Linked DNA regions of Homo sapiens: region 2 is linked to region 1. Evidence: promoter capture Hi-C in 16 types of primary human blood cells and fetal thymus (Javierre and others, 2016). All regions are on one chromosome and are shown on one strand. Each heading gives the region's core, a stretch centred on a gene start or on the middle of the fragment in contact. The rest is flanking DNA. Distances are from core to core; before and after follow the strand shown. Region 1 holds the start of AIFM1 (apoptosis inducing factor mitochondria associated 1). Region 2 has its middle 26 kb from the start of APLN.

Region 1 (7,419 bases), core at 1,865-4,364:
ATTACAGGCATGAGCCACCGTGCCCGGCCTGGAATTGATACTTTCAATATTTATCCCCTGGCCTAAAGTGATCCACCCTCCTCGGCCTCCCAAAGTGCTGGGATTACAGGCATGAGCCACAGAGCCTGACCATATTTTCAATATTTATCCAAAGGAGCTCTAGATAAAATGTCACCCATTGCCTGCACTTCTGAACACTGATCTACTCTGCTTAATGGGTAAGGGAGCCCTGGATCATCTTCACCACATAATGACTACTTCCTAGGCCTGGCACAGTGGCTCACACGTGTAATCCCAACACTTTGAGAGGCTGAGGCAGCAGGATTGCTTGAGCCCAGGAGTTCAAGACCAGCCTGGGCAACGTAATGAGACTGTCTCTTAAAGAAAACCAAAAAACAAAACTACTTCCTGGGTTAAACTTCACAGAAGGGTGTCTTTGTAGGCCGGGCGAGGTGGCTCATGCCTGTAATCCAAGCACTTTGGGAGGCCGAGGCGGGCGATCACCTGAGATCAGGAGTTCAAGACCAGCCTGGACAACATTGTGGAACCCCGTCTCTACTAAAAATAGAAAAATTAGCAGGGCGCGGTGGCATCTGCCTGTAATCCCAGCTACTCGGGAGGCTGAGGCAGGAGAATTGCTTGAACCTGGGAGGCAGAAGTTGCAGTGAGCCGAGATACTGCCACTGCACTCCAGCCTGGGTGACAAAGGGAGACTCCGTCTCAAGAAAAAAAAAAAAAAAAAAAGAGTATCTTTGTAATTTCTTTCTTTTTCTTTTTTGAAATAGGGTCTCGCTCTGTCATCCAGGCTGGAGTGCACGGGAGCAATCACTGCTCACTGCAGTCTCGATCTCCTAGGCTCAAGTGATCCTCCCATCTCAGCCTCCTGAGTAGCTGGAACCACAGGCACATACCACCACGCCTGGCTAATTTAAAAAAAAAATGGTAGAGATGATGTCTCATTATGTGCTCAGGCTGGTCTGGAACTCCTGGCCTCAAGCAATCTTCCCACTCGTCCTCCCAAAGTACTGGCATTACAGGCATGAGCCACTGCACCCGGCCCTGTAATTTCATTCTCTATCCCCATTCCACCAAAAAAAAAAAAAAAGTAACTTCATTACCTCCAAAGTTAGGGCCCAACTCTTGCCAGTTCAAATCTGGCCCCCCACCATACTTGCCTGTCTTTATCACTACTTCTTTATTTTTTTCTTTTTGGAGACAGAGTCTTGCTCCATCATCCAGGCTGGAGTGCAGTGGCACAATCTTGGCTCACTGCAGCCTCCACCTGGCAGGTTCAAGCGAGTCTCCTGCCTCAGTCTCCCTAGTAGCTGGGATTACAGGCGCATGCCATGGCGCCCGGCTAATTTTTGGATTTTTTGTAGAGACGGGGTTTCACCATGTTGGCCAGACTGGTCTTAAACTCCTGACCTAAAGTGATTCACCCGCCTAGGCCTCCCAAAGTGCTGGGATTACAGGCATGAGCCACGGAGCCTGACCACATCAATACTTCTTAGTATGTACTCTCTATCATTGTCCCCCGAAAATGTGCTGGGTTTTGGTTTTTTAAAACAGTTCCAAGCCTTTTCATTTAACAAACAGCATGGTGCTTCCTCTAAGACACTTTACAAATATTAGCTCATTTAGTCTTCCGAACACCCTCCTGAGATTTGTAGATGAGGAAAATGAGGCACAATTAAGTGACTTGCCCAGGTGGCAGAGCCAGGATTCAATGTGGGTTGGTCTGGATCCAAGGTCAACATGTTTAACAATGAAAAATGTTATCTTTGGTCCGAAAGTATTCACCATCTGAAATATCAATCCTTTTCCTCTACTGTTTGAATTTTACTACTCATCCTTCAAGACACAACTCAAATAACTTCTTACACGAAGTTCTACCATAGTGATTCCATCCCATAGTCTTCTCTCTTGCTCTGTCCGGCACTACACCAGATATTATTTCAATGACCGGTATATGTCATCTCCCCAACTAGACAGTGGCCACTTCCTATATAGATGCTATGTCCAAATAAACCCATTGTAAACTGAAAATATCGTTAAGTCGAAACTGCATTTAATACCCTGATAAACCCATCATAAAGTCAAAAAACCGTAAGTTGAACCATGCTTAAGTCCAGATGCTCCTCGACTGACATGGGGTTAGGTCTCATTAAACCCATCATAAAGTCGAAAAATTGTAAGTCGAACCATTGTGAGGGGTAAGTCGGGGACCATCCGTACTTTTCATACCCAACAGAGCCCCTTTTATAGTACAATCCAAGAGGTAAGTGCTCAATAAATACTTGTTAAATGAATATGTAAGCTGAATCTTTGAAACAGGCACATTGTATGTTCTGCATGCAGCCAAAACATTATTTCCAATTTAGCTTATATCTGGCAGAGTCAAAACACTTATTTACACTCAGCCCCTCACCCTACTCCCATAACTGAAAGTTCTGCTTAGCAGACTTCTCTTCCCAGAAAGTCCGAGAAGCACGAACGCTTTTTGCTAACATCCTGCTCCCAAGCACAGAAACCACAGCAGGAGACTGTGTGTATCTGTAGCACCTGGTATACAGCATCTAGGACACACAACTGAACTAATAAATAAAGGTGACAGGCGGGAAGAAGAGCGCAGAATTACTTGTCCAGGAAACGGGTTGGGTGGGAAAGAGCCGGCAACTGGTAAAAGATGGAAGTACACGCCGGATCTGGGAAGCCAGGTTCCGCGCCTCGGACTCATGGAAAAACTGGATCTGGATCACTGCAAAAGAATCAGGAAGGCTTCGGTATCAAGTAACTGGTGTCCTAAAACCAAAAAACAAAGTGCGATGCCGGGGCTACGCTGTTGTGAGATGCTGTTATCAGTTCTCGTCACCAACACAGCGGCAGCACCAGGCACAACCGCCAATCAAAGCGGCCCCACGAGTCCCTCCTTGAACAGGTTCCTTAACTCGTTCAGTCCAACACTGTGCCACAAACTCGCGAAAACCGGCTACCTAGAGCCAGCGTCTTTGCGAGCTTGCGGCCAGCTAGTGCATGCGCAAATCCTCTCGCCGTGCGGACCAATCGCAATGCGGCAGCGAGTGCTACGCCTGCGCAGTAGGCCTCCGGTCGCCGTTCCCCTTCCCCGGCTCTAGCAGGCCGGCTTCTCTGTCCAATGCCCACCCGGAGCTGGGAGGAGGAGTCTGCGTAATGTGCGTGTGAAGAGACTGGGGGAGCTGGCCGGGGCTCACGGTGTTTGACCCGTCGGTCGTGCGTGAGAGGAAAGGGAAGGAGGAGGTCCCGAATAGCGGTCGCCGAAATGTTCCGGTGTGGAGGCCTGGCGGCGGGTGCTTTGAAGCAGAAGCTGGTGCCCTTGGTGCGGACCGTGTGCGTCCGAAGCCCGAGGCAGAGGAACCGGCTCCCAGGTGACTGACCCATTCCAGGCAACCTCCAAGTCCGAGGGCCTGGCGCCTTAGGCTCCCTGTGCCTTGCAGCCCTCTACCCCCGCGTCCCCGCGAGAAACTTAACACATAGTCACGTGAATTCCAAATTGGCAGACTCCGAACCCTGAGTCTTGCAAGCGGAGGAATTGGCTCAGCCATGCCGACCTGACCTTCAAGAGATTTGAACCCAGTAGTCGGCTTGAGGCCTTTTCCCGGGAGCGTTTGCTGTTCAGGGATCCCAGAACAACTGGCTGTCGGCGCCTCCCCGGCATCCCCACCCCCCACCCCCCTTTTTAGAGCAATGAGGTCAAGTAGACTTTGTCATTTACCGATTGAGACTTTAAACAGGACGTTTAAGCCCTACGCCTAAGTTTCTTGTGTAAATGAGGGTGTTATCTGCTCAGCCTTCCAAACCACAGATGAGATCCATGGATTTGAATGCCCAGTGAAACAGAAACGGTGCAGGGCAAGTAAGGAGTCGGTTGGTTGTGTACCAGACACCCAGAGAATTGGCCCAGACTTAATTGGAGATGCCTGAGCCGTGTACTTCTTGGTGGTCTTTAAGGCTTCAAAGAAACAGTTTGCAGAACGCATTGTATTTTGTTCTCCATTAAGTTGTTTCATCAAATTTTAGAGCTGGAAGGGATTTTGTGGTAAAGGTCAACCCACTCATTTTATAGATAATAAACTGAGGCACAGAGAGGTGAAATTACTTGCCAAAGGTCACATAGTTAATTAATAGGTAGAGCTAAGGATAGTTTGCTAGCCTCCAGGTCCTTAATCCCTTCGCTGCAACTCCATACTGCTTCCTAAAGTTGACCTCAAAAAGTTAAGAATGAATTCGGGTCTCTTCCCAGTAATTAGCCCATTGTACATCAGATATCCGTGAATTTATCTGAGCATGGCTTGAGCCTGCTTCTTTTCGTACTGCGTTACTTCATGGGGGCAATGAATGATCCACCTGTAGGAGTTGCTTTGAAAAAAAAATCAGTAATCCTTCAATGTCCACCCCTAGGGCATTTGCAATGTCAGAAGTTATCCTTGAGGCTTTTACAATACAGAAACACCTGGGTGCTTTAAAAATAAAAAGTGGAAAATATTTTCCTTGGGTTGTTAGGGTCTTTGCAAATGTGCATTTGAACAGTTTTTCCAGTTGCTATGCACAATGAAAATGTTTCCTGATAGGTGTATTTGAGTTATGTCCTGGGACATACTGCTCTTGGAACTTAAAACCTCTGCTTAGCTTTTAAACTAATGCCTTATCAATGGATGTCATCTTTGAGGGTTTTGTGTATTGAAATGATGGTGCTCTGTGCTTGTTGCACAGAAATTGAGATAACCTGAATTTTTTTTTTTTTTTTTTTTGAGACGGAGTCTCGCTTTGTCGCCCAGGCTGGAGTGCAGTGGCGCGATCTCGGCTCACTGCAATCTCCGCCTCCCGGATTCACGCCATTCTTCTGCCTCAGCCTCCAGAGTAGCTGGGACTACAGGCACCCGCCACCACGCCCGGCTAATTTTTTTTTTTTTTTTTTTGTATTTTTAGTAGAGACAAGGTTTCACCATGTTAACCAGGATGGTCTCGATCTCCTGACCTCGTGATCCGCCCACCTCGGCCTCCCAAAGCGCTGGGATTACAGGCGTGAGCCACCGCGCCCGGCGATAACCTGAATTTTTTCATCCACACTGGCCTTTCAAACTTTGAGTAGTTGTTTTGCTTAAGTCTCACAACTTTTACCAGCATTCTAAAGTCTGACCAAAAGTTCTCATCAATTAAATATGCATTTGCAAAGTTAAGTTGATTTATTAGACATTGGAAAGTGGTTGGTGTTGTTAGAACTACTGAAAAATACAGACTCAAATGGTTTTTTCCACTGCATGTCTTTGTTTGAAGGCAGTCTACTGTAGAATATATTCGGACTTCCTGACATATCCATCCATCTCTTTGCATACACTTGTTCTTTGTCCTTTGGCCGTGCACCAAAGTATGACATCATCTGCCTTTAAAAATGGGTGAGGGTAGTGTTAAATTTTCAAAAAGAAGTTCTGATACTCTCATTTTAGGAATTAACTCTGTTTTGTGGCTTGATTCCTAACTGCTTTTAATCTGATTTCTTTTTCATGTAGTAGCATCTACCGTGTGTTTTTGCACAGGTGGGAAAGAGCAAGGTTCGTTTATACACCATTTCTCCCTCCACCTTACCTTTAAACTTTTTTTTTTTTTTTTTTTTGAGGCGGAGTCTCGCTCAGTTTCCCAGAGTGCAGTGGCACGATCTTGGCTCACTGCAACCTCTGCCTGCTGGGTTCAAGCAATTCTCCTGCGTCAGCCTCCCAAGTAGCTGGGACTACAGGCATGCACCACCACGCCGGGCTAATTTTTTGTATTTTTAGTAGAGACGGGGTTTCACCATGCTGGCCAGGCTGGTCTCAAACTCCTGACCTTGTGATCCACCTGCTTCAGCCTCCCAAACCTTTAAACTTTAAACCTGCCTTGCAACTATCTCGTTGACATCTGTCACCATTGTCAGGTTCATTTCCATTATATGTTGCATTCTGCCTTAAAACCATGATAGCTACTATTTGTTTATTTACTTTATTTATTTGGATGCTCTGCCTCCTTCCAGAGATGATTGAAGGTAACTCATAGTCATCACTCTATGTCTGCATTCAGACACAGAGGAGCAGATAGGTTAGATAATAGACATTTTCTGTTCTATAATATTTTGTTTGGTCACCAAACAGTGCTGCCCATGTTATCAAACTGATCACCGACTCCCTGACTTTAGGTTCAAATGTTTGAACGTTTTTCTCTATTTGGAATCCTTCTCACCTCTTTAAAAAGGAAACTGAGCTCCTTGTGGGCAAGGATCCTGGCTTCCTGGACACTGCCAAATGTGACTTCGTTTTGAAGCCTAAAAGATGAGTCTTCCCCCGTTGTTTCTGCTGAGACAAGGCTTTGCAGAAGAAATTCTTTGGCAGCTCAGCCCTTTCTGTAACCAGTTAATAAGTTACATTTTCTAGAAATGTTCTAACTTTTTGAGGGAGTTACTGCATGTCTTAGCTTTCTTCTAGATCATGTTTCCAAAAGTTGCCTGCTCATGTGAATCGAGTAGAGAACCAGTTCCTAACCTTCTCCAGGAGATAATTCTGGGAATCTGTATTTTAACAAGCCCCTTGACATTCATATGATCAGACAAGTTTGGTATATACTGTTTTGGATGAGTAGTGACTCTTCCCCTTCTGTTTTGCTGACGTAAGGATTAAAAAACCAAACTGAGCAATCTGGAGTCTCTTGTGATTTGTATCAAGCTCATTTTCTCATATTCAGAATAGTAGCAGCCATTCTCCTAAATTAAACACTACCTGAGGACATGGATTATGTCCTATTTATTTTTGTGTCCTTAGCATCTTGTACCATCTCTGGCACATGGTAAATTCTCGTGACTGAACCCTAGTACAGCATTGTGAAGGACTTAACTTTGCAGAAGAGAGATTTTATTTTGTTATCTAAATAATTTTTCCTTGTGTGTCTTTCATCAGAATGGTTCACGCTGTACTATAGTTATTACTACTCTGTTTCTTCTAAAATTCCAGCAAGGGTTGATATTAAAAAATTAAAAAAGGCTGATAGCTAGGCGTGGTGGCTCACGCCTGTAATCCCAGCACTTTGGTATGCCAAGGTGGGCAGATCACTTGAGGTTGGAAGTTCAAGACCAGCCTGACCAACATGGAGAAACCCCGTCTCTACTAAAAATCAAAAATTAGCCAAGCGTGGTGGCACATGCCTGTAATCCCTGCTACTCGGGAGGCTGAGGCAGGAGAATTGCTTGAACCCGGGAAGTGGAGGTTGCGGTGAACCGAGATCACACCACTGCACTCCAGCCTGGACGACAGAGCGAGAATCTGTCTCAAAAAAAAAAAAAAAAGGCTGATAAATAGTTGTTGGATCCCTTGTAAAGAATCATTTATCTACAATGGACAGACTATCTAGGCTTGTCCT
Region 2 (6,945 bases), core at 530-3,029, 530 kb after region 1:
TTCCTAGTTGCCATGGAAACTTGAGAAGGTGTCAGGAACACCACATCATGTAAACATTCCATAATTATTCATTTGGACTGGGGCGGCAGCAGACAGTCACTTCGCCAATTACTAAACGCTTGGCCTTGCTGGGCCACGTCCAAGGCTGGTGGGCCTGGTGGGTGTGGTTCCTCCTTTGGCTGTCCAGGAACCGCCCAAGCGTGTGGGCTGCTGCCAGTGGCTTTCCTGGGACTTCACTGGGGCTCACTGAGCACTGAGCTTTCTCCAGTCGCACCCCTCCACCAGGGCATCCTTCCCCTGTCTTAGTCTGTTTGTGCTGCTATAACAACATACCTGAGACTAAGTCACTTATAACTGGAAATCTCTTTCTCACAGTTCTGCAGGCCGGGAAGTCCAAGATCAAGCTGCTGGCAGGTTCAGTTGTCTGTTGAGGGCAGCTCTCTGCATCCAAGATGGCACCTTGTTGCTGCATCCTCTGGAAGGGAGGAACACTTGTGTCCTCAGGTGGTGGAAAGGACAGAAGAGCAAAAGGGAAGGAATGCTGTGTCCTCGCATGGCAGAAGAGGAGAAGCCAACAAACCAACTCCTTCAAGCCCTTTTATAAGGGCCCTAATCCCATCCATGAATGCTCCACCCTCATGACTCACCTCCGAAAGTCCCTGCCTCTTAATACTGTCATATTCGCTTTACGTTTCGACACATGAATTTTGGGGGACACATTCAGACTGTAGCACCCTCCTTTGAACTCCACCTCCAGTAAGATAGCCCTTCTGCCTAACCCTGCCTGCCTCATGCCTCTCCTTAGTTCATAACACCCCTCTTTCATCTGAGCTTGTTTGCATTTGCTTGCTTTTGCTGTAGCAGGGATCATGCTGGATTGGGAGTCTGAGCACTGACTCTGGGCCCAGCTCTGTGACTCACCCACTGAGTATTCCTGGGCAAGGCCTTTGACCTCTCTGGGCCTCAGTTTCCCTCTCTGTAGTCTGTTTGCTAGTTGCTCTCCCCCTCTAGACTGTGAGCTCTCTAATTGCAGGGACAGGTCTCTGGTCCATTGCTGTAGTTCCAGCCCCCTGTACAGGCACATAGTAGGTGTTTAAGAAGTGTTAAATGACCAGAGATAATAATGGGCTGCCCTGTACCCTCCTCTTCCACTCCTATTCAGATTTTTCCACCCTGGTTCAGTCTCCTTAGGGCCCTGCTATCCCTGCAAAGGTCTGAGAAACTCATGGCAAAGCCTTCATTGGGCTAATGGCCCTACCATTCCTAAAAGAGGCCAGGAGCGAGATACTTTAAGCTCCAAGATAGAGGTAGGGTGGAGACCTTGGGGCCTCTGGCAACTCCAACTTGTTCCCTGCTATGCCACCTCCAAGCAGGGGTGGCTGTGAGTGTGTGAATGAGTGGGCCTTCAATCCGCAGGGGCATCAGCTCCACTACAAGCTGCCTTGCTCAGCGAAATGGCAGTATAACCTAGTGGTTAGAAGCATAGGTATTGAAGTCAGATGGCCTGAGTTCAGATCCCAGCTTTACTTCTTATCAGCTGGGAGACTAAGGGCAAGGCACTGAACTTCTCGGGGCCAGTTTCCTTATCTATAAGATGGAGGCAATGATAGTGCCTGCCTCATAGGGACCATGTGTGTTAATGCTATGTGTGTGTGTGTGTGTGTGTGTGTGTGTGTGTGTGTGTGTGTGTGTGTTTCTGATAATGCTTGGCACCAAGTAAGCAATCAGTAAAAATGAAGGGGGAAGCAAGAGGGGAGCTCTTTATCCCAAGTAAGGGTGGGGCATCTCTCCCTTTAATCTACTCCCTCCGCTCATTGCCATTACCCCAGTTTCTGGTCAGAGTTGTCCTACTTTCCCATGGGAAAAAAGCCCAGGCTGGCTATTCTAGTGTCACTGATCTGGACCCAGCAGGACCCAGACCAGGGCAGAGTTTTTTATTCTCGTGGCCTAGTCCGTCCCAGCTCCCCTGCAGCAACAATCAGTTTCATTTATTTATTTATGCTGCGTTTGTTGAGCACCTAGTCTATGCCACTCGCACGCTTCAAGTGTTTCTTGGATCGATTCTCTAAACTCTGCTTAGAGGAACTCCTACCTTAACTGTTTGACAGTCCCTTTTTCTTGAGCATCGAGTCTCCTCCAAACTATGGCCCTCCCATTCTGCCACTCAGTGGCTCTGTGATCCTGGACCAAATCCCTCCCCATTCTGTACCTCAATTTCTTTAGCTGGTAAATGAGGGTCTGGAAGGTTTCTCTGGGGCCCTGTGTAGCTCAGGTTGTTATAGATGACTGGTTCACTGGCTCCTTGTCCCAGGGTCAGAATGAATTGTGTGTATCCTAGGAGCTCACAAAGGGCAGGGCTTGGAAGTTTGAGCCCCTGGTTTCCTGCCTGCTGGGGTAGACACAGTCTCCAGTCTCAAGGTGCTCCAGGTTTCCTGGGGAAAAACTAAGGCCCATGGTGGGAGCAGGGGTGGGGCAGGATTCCTAAAAAGGAGACCTCCATTTCCTCAGTAAGTTTCCAAATGTTGCCCAAAGTGGGCTGGACTCCAGCTGAAAGGCCTTGCCAAGGCTGGATAAAAGCAGCTCCCCAGCTCTCACTGGGGCCTTCCAGGCCTGGATGGAAACTCTTTTACTGGGCTTGTCAGCTGCTTGGAGAGCCAGCGGGACTGAGTGGCTGGAAGAGGAAATAATGGGGACAGCTCATTCGCAGTGAGAGCCAGGCTCCCAGCCCGCCTGTCTTCCATGCCGGCCCTTACTTGGCCCACGTGGATGCTCCCCACAACACTCCCTCACTGGGCCTAGAGTCCCACTGACCCGTGGCGTGCATCTTACCAGCCCACTATGCAGGGGCTTCCCCACACCACTCTCACAACTTCAACCTTAATTTGGGTTACAGCCCCTTGATTGATAGTCAAGGAATTCTCACTCATTTCCAGCCATTGCCTGGCCTGCTTGAACTGGAAACTCATTCAGTTCCCTGTGGGGGAAGAGAGTTCTCGACCTTACAGACACAAGGGAGAGGACTTGAGCAGAGGAGCAGCATGCTGAAAGTGCTGAGGCCTAATGAGAAGCCAGCACTAGACTAGAAACACTTAGAGATTGGATACCTGAATTCTAGTCCTGGCTTGGCCGTTTATTGCCTATATGACCTAGGAAAAACCATGTCACCTCTCTGCATCTGTTTCTTCATCTAAAATAGGGACAAAGCGATCCCTGTTCTGCTAACCTCACTGGATTGATAGGAGGCTCAAGCAAGCCTGTATAGTCATCCTTTGGTATCCACGGGGGTTTAGCTCCAGGACCCCGCATATACCAAGATCCATGTATACTCAAGTCCCACAGTCAGCCCTTTGAGACACATACACAAAAAGTCACCCCTCCATGTACACAGGTTTCACAATATGCGAATACTCTATTTTCAGTGTGTGTTTGGTTGAAAAAAGAAATCCACAAATAAGTGGACCAGTGCACCTCAAACCCACATTGTTCAAGGGTAAACTGTTTATGGAAAAGTACTTTTTTACCTACAGAGCACTGTAGAAATGTTCAGGGGTAGGTGACAAGATGCCCTTCCTCTTCTCCTAGGAGCCTGGCGTCCACATTTCCCCTTCCCCTCCACCATTTGCATTGGCTTCTTCCCCTTGGCCCTCAAATGTGCTCAGAGATCCCCTGTCCCTCCACTGACATTTCTTACACTTTACCTTCCCCACCAAAGTTCTGAGACAAATGGTCTACACCAGACGTTTTCCATCCTCCTACTCCTGCTCTCTGGCTTTCACTCTATGCCCCTCCTCACTCTTCATCCTCCTCAAGGTCTCTGCAGGCATTTCAGCCAATCAATCCTGCCCCCACCTCAGTCCTTTGGTTTCCATGCTTGGAAGCTTCTCTGATAGTCCCCAGTAATCCCCCATCCTGGTATTCCTGCCTTTGTCTAACCCCGTCCCCTTGCATATGGGCTGGACTAAGTGACTCGCTTCTAACAAATAGAATATGGCAAAGATGATGGGCTGCCATTTCCAAGATTAAATTGTGAGACTGACTCCTGCCTTTCTCACACACTCACCATCTCTCACTCGCTTGCTCTGAGGAAGCCAGCTGCCATGTTGTGAACTGTCCTCTGGAGAGTTCTGTGTTGCAAGGAACTGAGCCAGCCAATAGCCAGCAAGAAACTGTGGCTCTGGTCTGATAGCCAGTGAGCACCTGAAGGCTCCTGTTGACAGCCATGTGAGTGAGCTTGGAAATGGATTCTTCCCCTGTTGAGCATTGAGGTGACTGCAGCCCTGGCCAACACCTTGACTGCAGGTTGTGAGGGGGCCCGAGGCGGAGGGTCCAGCTAAGCTGTACTCAGATCCCTGACCCACAGAAACTGTGAAATAATAAACTCACTGTTTTAAGCCACTAAGGTCTGCGATAATTAGCAAAGTAAAAACCATTGCTGTTTCTTTCTTTCTTTCTTTCTTTTTTTTTTTTTGACAGAGTCTCGCTGTGTAGCCCAGGCTGGAGTGCAGTGATGTAATCTCAGCTCACTGTAACCTCCGCCTCCTGGGATCAAACGATTCTTCCACCTCAGCCTCCCGAGTAGCTGGGACTACAGGTGTGCGCCACCACACCTGGCTAATTTTTGTATTTTTAGCAGAGATGGGGTTTTGCCATGGCCGGGCTGGTCTTGAACTCCTGACCTCATGTGATCCGCCCACCTCAGCTTCCCAAAGTACTGGAATTACAGGTGTGAGCCATGGCACCTGCCCTATTGCTGTTACTTTCCAGCACCTTGGACAACACAGCTAACCAAATATCACCGGGGAGAAATCTAGCTGGTCCTAGCTTAGTAAATAAGTCCTTGTGAAATCAACAGATATGATGTGTTCCCTGTTGCCTGGGAATTAATGATCCCAGGCACACAGATGCAGGTGAACAGAAATACTCAATCATTTACTATCTGTGTGCCCAGCACCACAAAGCGTTATATCACACTCTGTGGAGTATAAAGAAGCATTCGGAAATCCAAACAACCCCAATTATCCTGATAATAGGGCAGTAAGTACGTAAATTGGGACATATTTATATAATGGAATACTATGGAGTTAAATGGAAAGAGCTAGATGTTTCAATGTGAAAAATCTCAAAAACTTGATGTTGAGCAAAAACAGCAAGTTGCAAAATGATACGTACAGGAAGTCATTGATGGAAAGTTCGAACACTCATAAAGCAATCCTGTAAATTGTTTATAGATACAATGCACTGGACAAGTATAAAAAACACACAGGAGCTGGGCGTGGTGGCTCACGCCTGTAATCCCAGCACTTTGGGAGGCCGAGGTGGGCAGATCACGAGGTCAAGAGATCGAGACCATCCTGGCCAACATGGTGAAACCCCACCTCTAAGAAAATTACAAAAATTAGCTGGGTGTGGTGGCGCACCCCTGTAGTCCCAGCTACTCGGGAGGCTGAGGCTGGAGAATCACTTACCCAGGAGGCGGAGATTGCAGTGAGCTGAGATTGTGGTACTGCACTCCAGTCTGGCAACAGAGCGAGACTCTGTCTCAAAACAAAACAAACAAACAAACAATAACAACAACAAAATAGGAAAGTTATAGGCATCTCCCTTGAGCTCCAGACTCATGTACTAAACTGCCTATCCATCATCTCCCTTTGGATGTCCAATAGGCTTCTCAAACATAATGTGACCAGCACTGATTGCCTGATCCTCTCCTCCTGCATACCTGGTCCCTTTGAAGTAAATGGCAGTACATGACAATTCCCATGTGGCTGAGGCAGAAACCTTTTTTTAGAAAACATTAGATTCAGGGGATATATGTGCAGATTTGTTACATGGATATATTGTGTGATGCTGAAGTTTGGGCTTCTATTGATTCCATCACCCAAACGGTGAACATAGCACCTGGTAGGTAGTTTTTCAACCCTTGCCCTCCTCCTTCCCTCCCACCTTTTGGAGTCCCCAGTGTCTATTGCTCCCATCCTTATATCTGTGTTTACCCAATATTTAGCTGCTGTTTATAAGTGAGAACATGTGGTATTCGGTTTTCTGTTTGTGTTAATTCACTCAGGATAATGGCCTCTAGCTGCATCCATGTTGCTGCAAAGGACACAATTTCATTTATTTTATGGCTACATAGTACTCTATGGTGTACATATACCACATTTTCTTTGTCCAGTCACACTGATGGGCACCAAGGCTGATGTGATTCCATGTCTTTGCTGTTGTGAACAGTGCTGCGATGAACATGCGAGTGCATGTGTCTTTTTGGTAGAACGATTTATTTTCTTTTGGATACATACCCAGTAATGGGATTGCTGGGTCAAGTTGTAATTCTATTTTCAGTTATTTGAGAAATCTCCAAACTTCTTTCTACAGGAGCTGAGCTAATTTACAATCCCACCAACAGTGTATGAGTGTTTTTTTTCTCTCTGCAACCTCGCCAACATCTGTTATTTTTGACTTTTTAATAGGAACCAGTCTGACTGGTGTGAGATGGTATCTCATTGTGGTTTTGATTTGCATTTCTCTGATTAGCGATGTTGAGCATTTTTTCATATGTTTGTTGGCCACTCATATGTCTTCTTTTGAGAAGTGTCTGTTTATGTCCTTTGTCTAGTTTTTAATGGGGTTGTTTGTTTTTTTCCTTGTTGATGAGTTTAAGTTCCTAATAGATTCCAGATATTAATTAGTCCTTTGTTGTTTGCATAGTTTGCCTCTATTTTCTCCCATTCTGTGGGTTGTCTGTTTACTCTGTTGATGGCTTCTTTTGATGTGTAGAAGCTGTTTAGTTTAATCAGGTCCTACTTGTCAATTTTTGGTTTTGTTGCATTTGCTTTTGAGGACTTAGTTATAAATTATTTACCTTGGCCAATGGCCAGAAGAGTATTTCTTAAGTTTGATTCTAGGATTTTTATAGTTTATGGTCTTACATTTAAGTCTTTATTCCAC

The links. Contacts are between HindIII fragments. The CHiCAGO score rates a contact against its expected background, and 5 or more counts as called.
Region 2: a fragment that was not itself captured here is called in contact with the fragment with the promoter of AIFM1 in region 1 in 4 of 17 cell types (total CD4 T cells, neutrophils, total B cells and 1 more); the score reaches 7.1 in total CD4 T cells.

Annotation. Positions count from the first base shown.
Region 1 is chrX:130,161,536-130,168,954 of GRCh38, reverse strand. It overlaps AIFM1 (apoptosis inducing factor mitochondria associated 1), which reads left to right and starts at 3,114. Exons shown (of 16, transcript NM_004208.4): 1 at 3,114-3,404. The coding sequence starts at 3,299. It also overlaps a transcript of RAB33A not described here. RefSeq lists an enhancer at 3,126-3,465. The HindIII fragment of the contact is 8,785 bases long and covers 1-7,419 here.
Region 2 is chrX:129,625,743-129,632,687 of GRCh38, reverse strand. No RefSeq gene overlaps it. Among named protein-coding and RNA genes, the nearest start is that of APLN, 26 kb to the left of the region's middle. The HindIII fragment of the contact is 4,202 bases long and covers 1-3,880 here.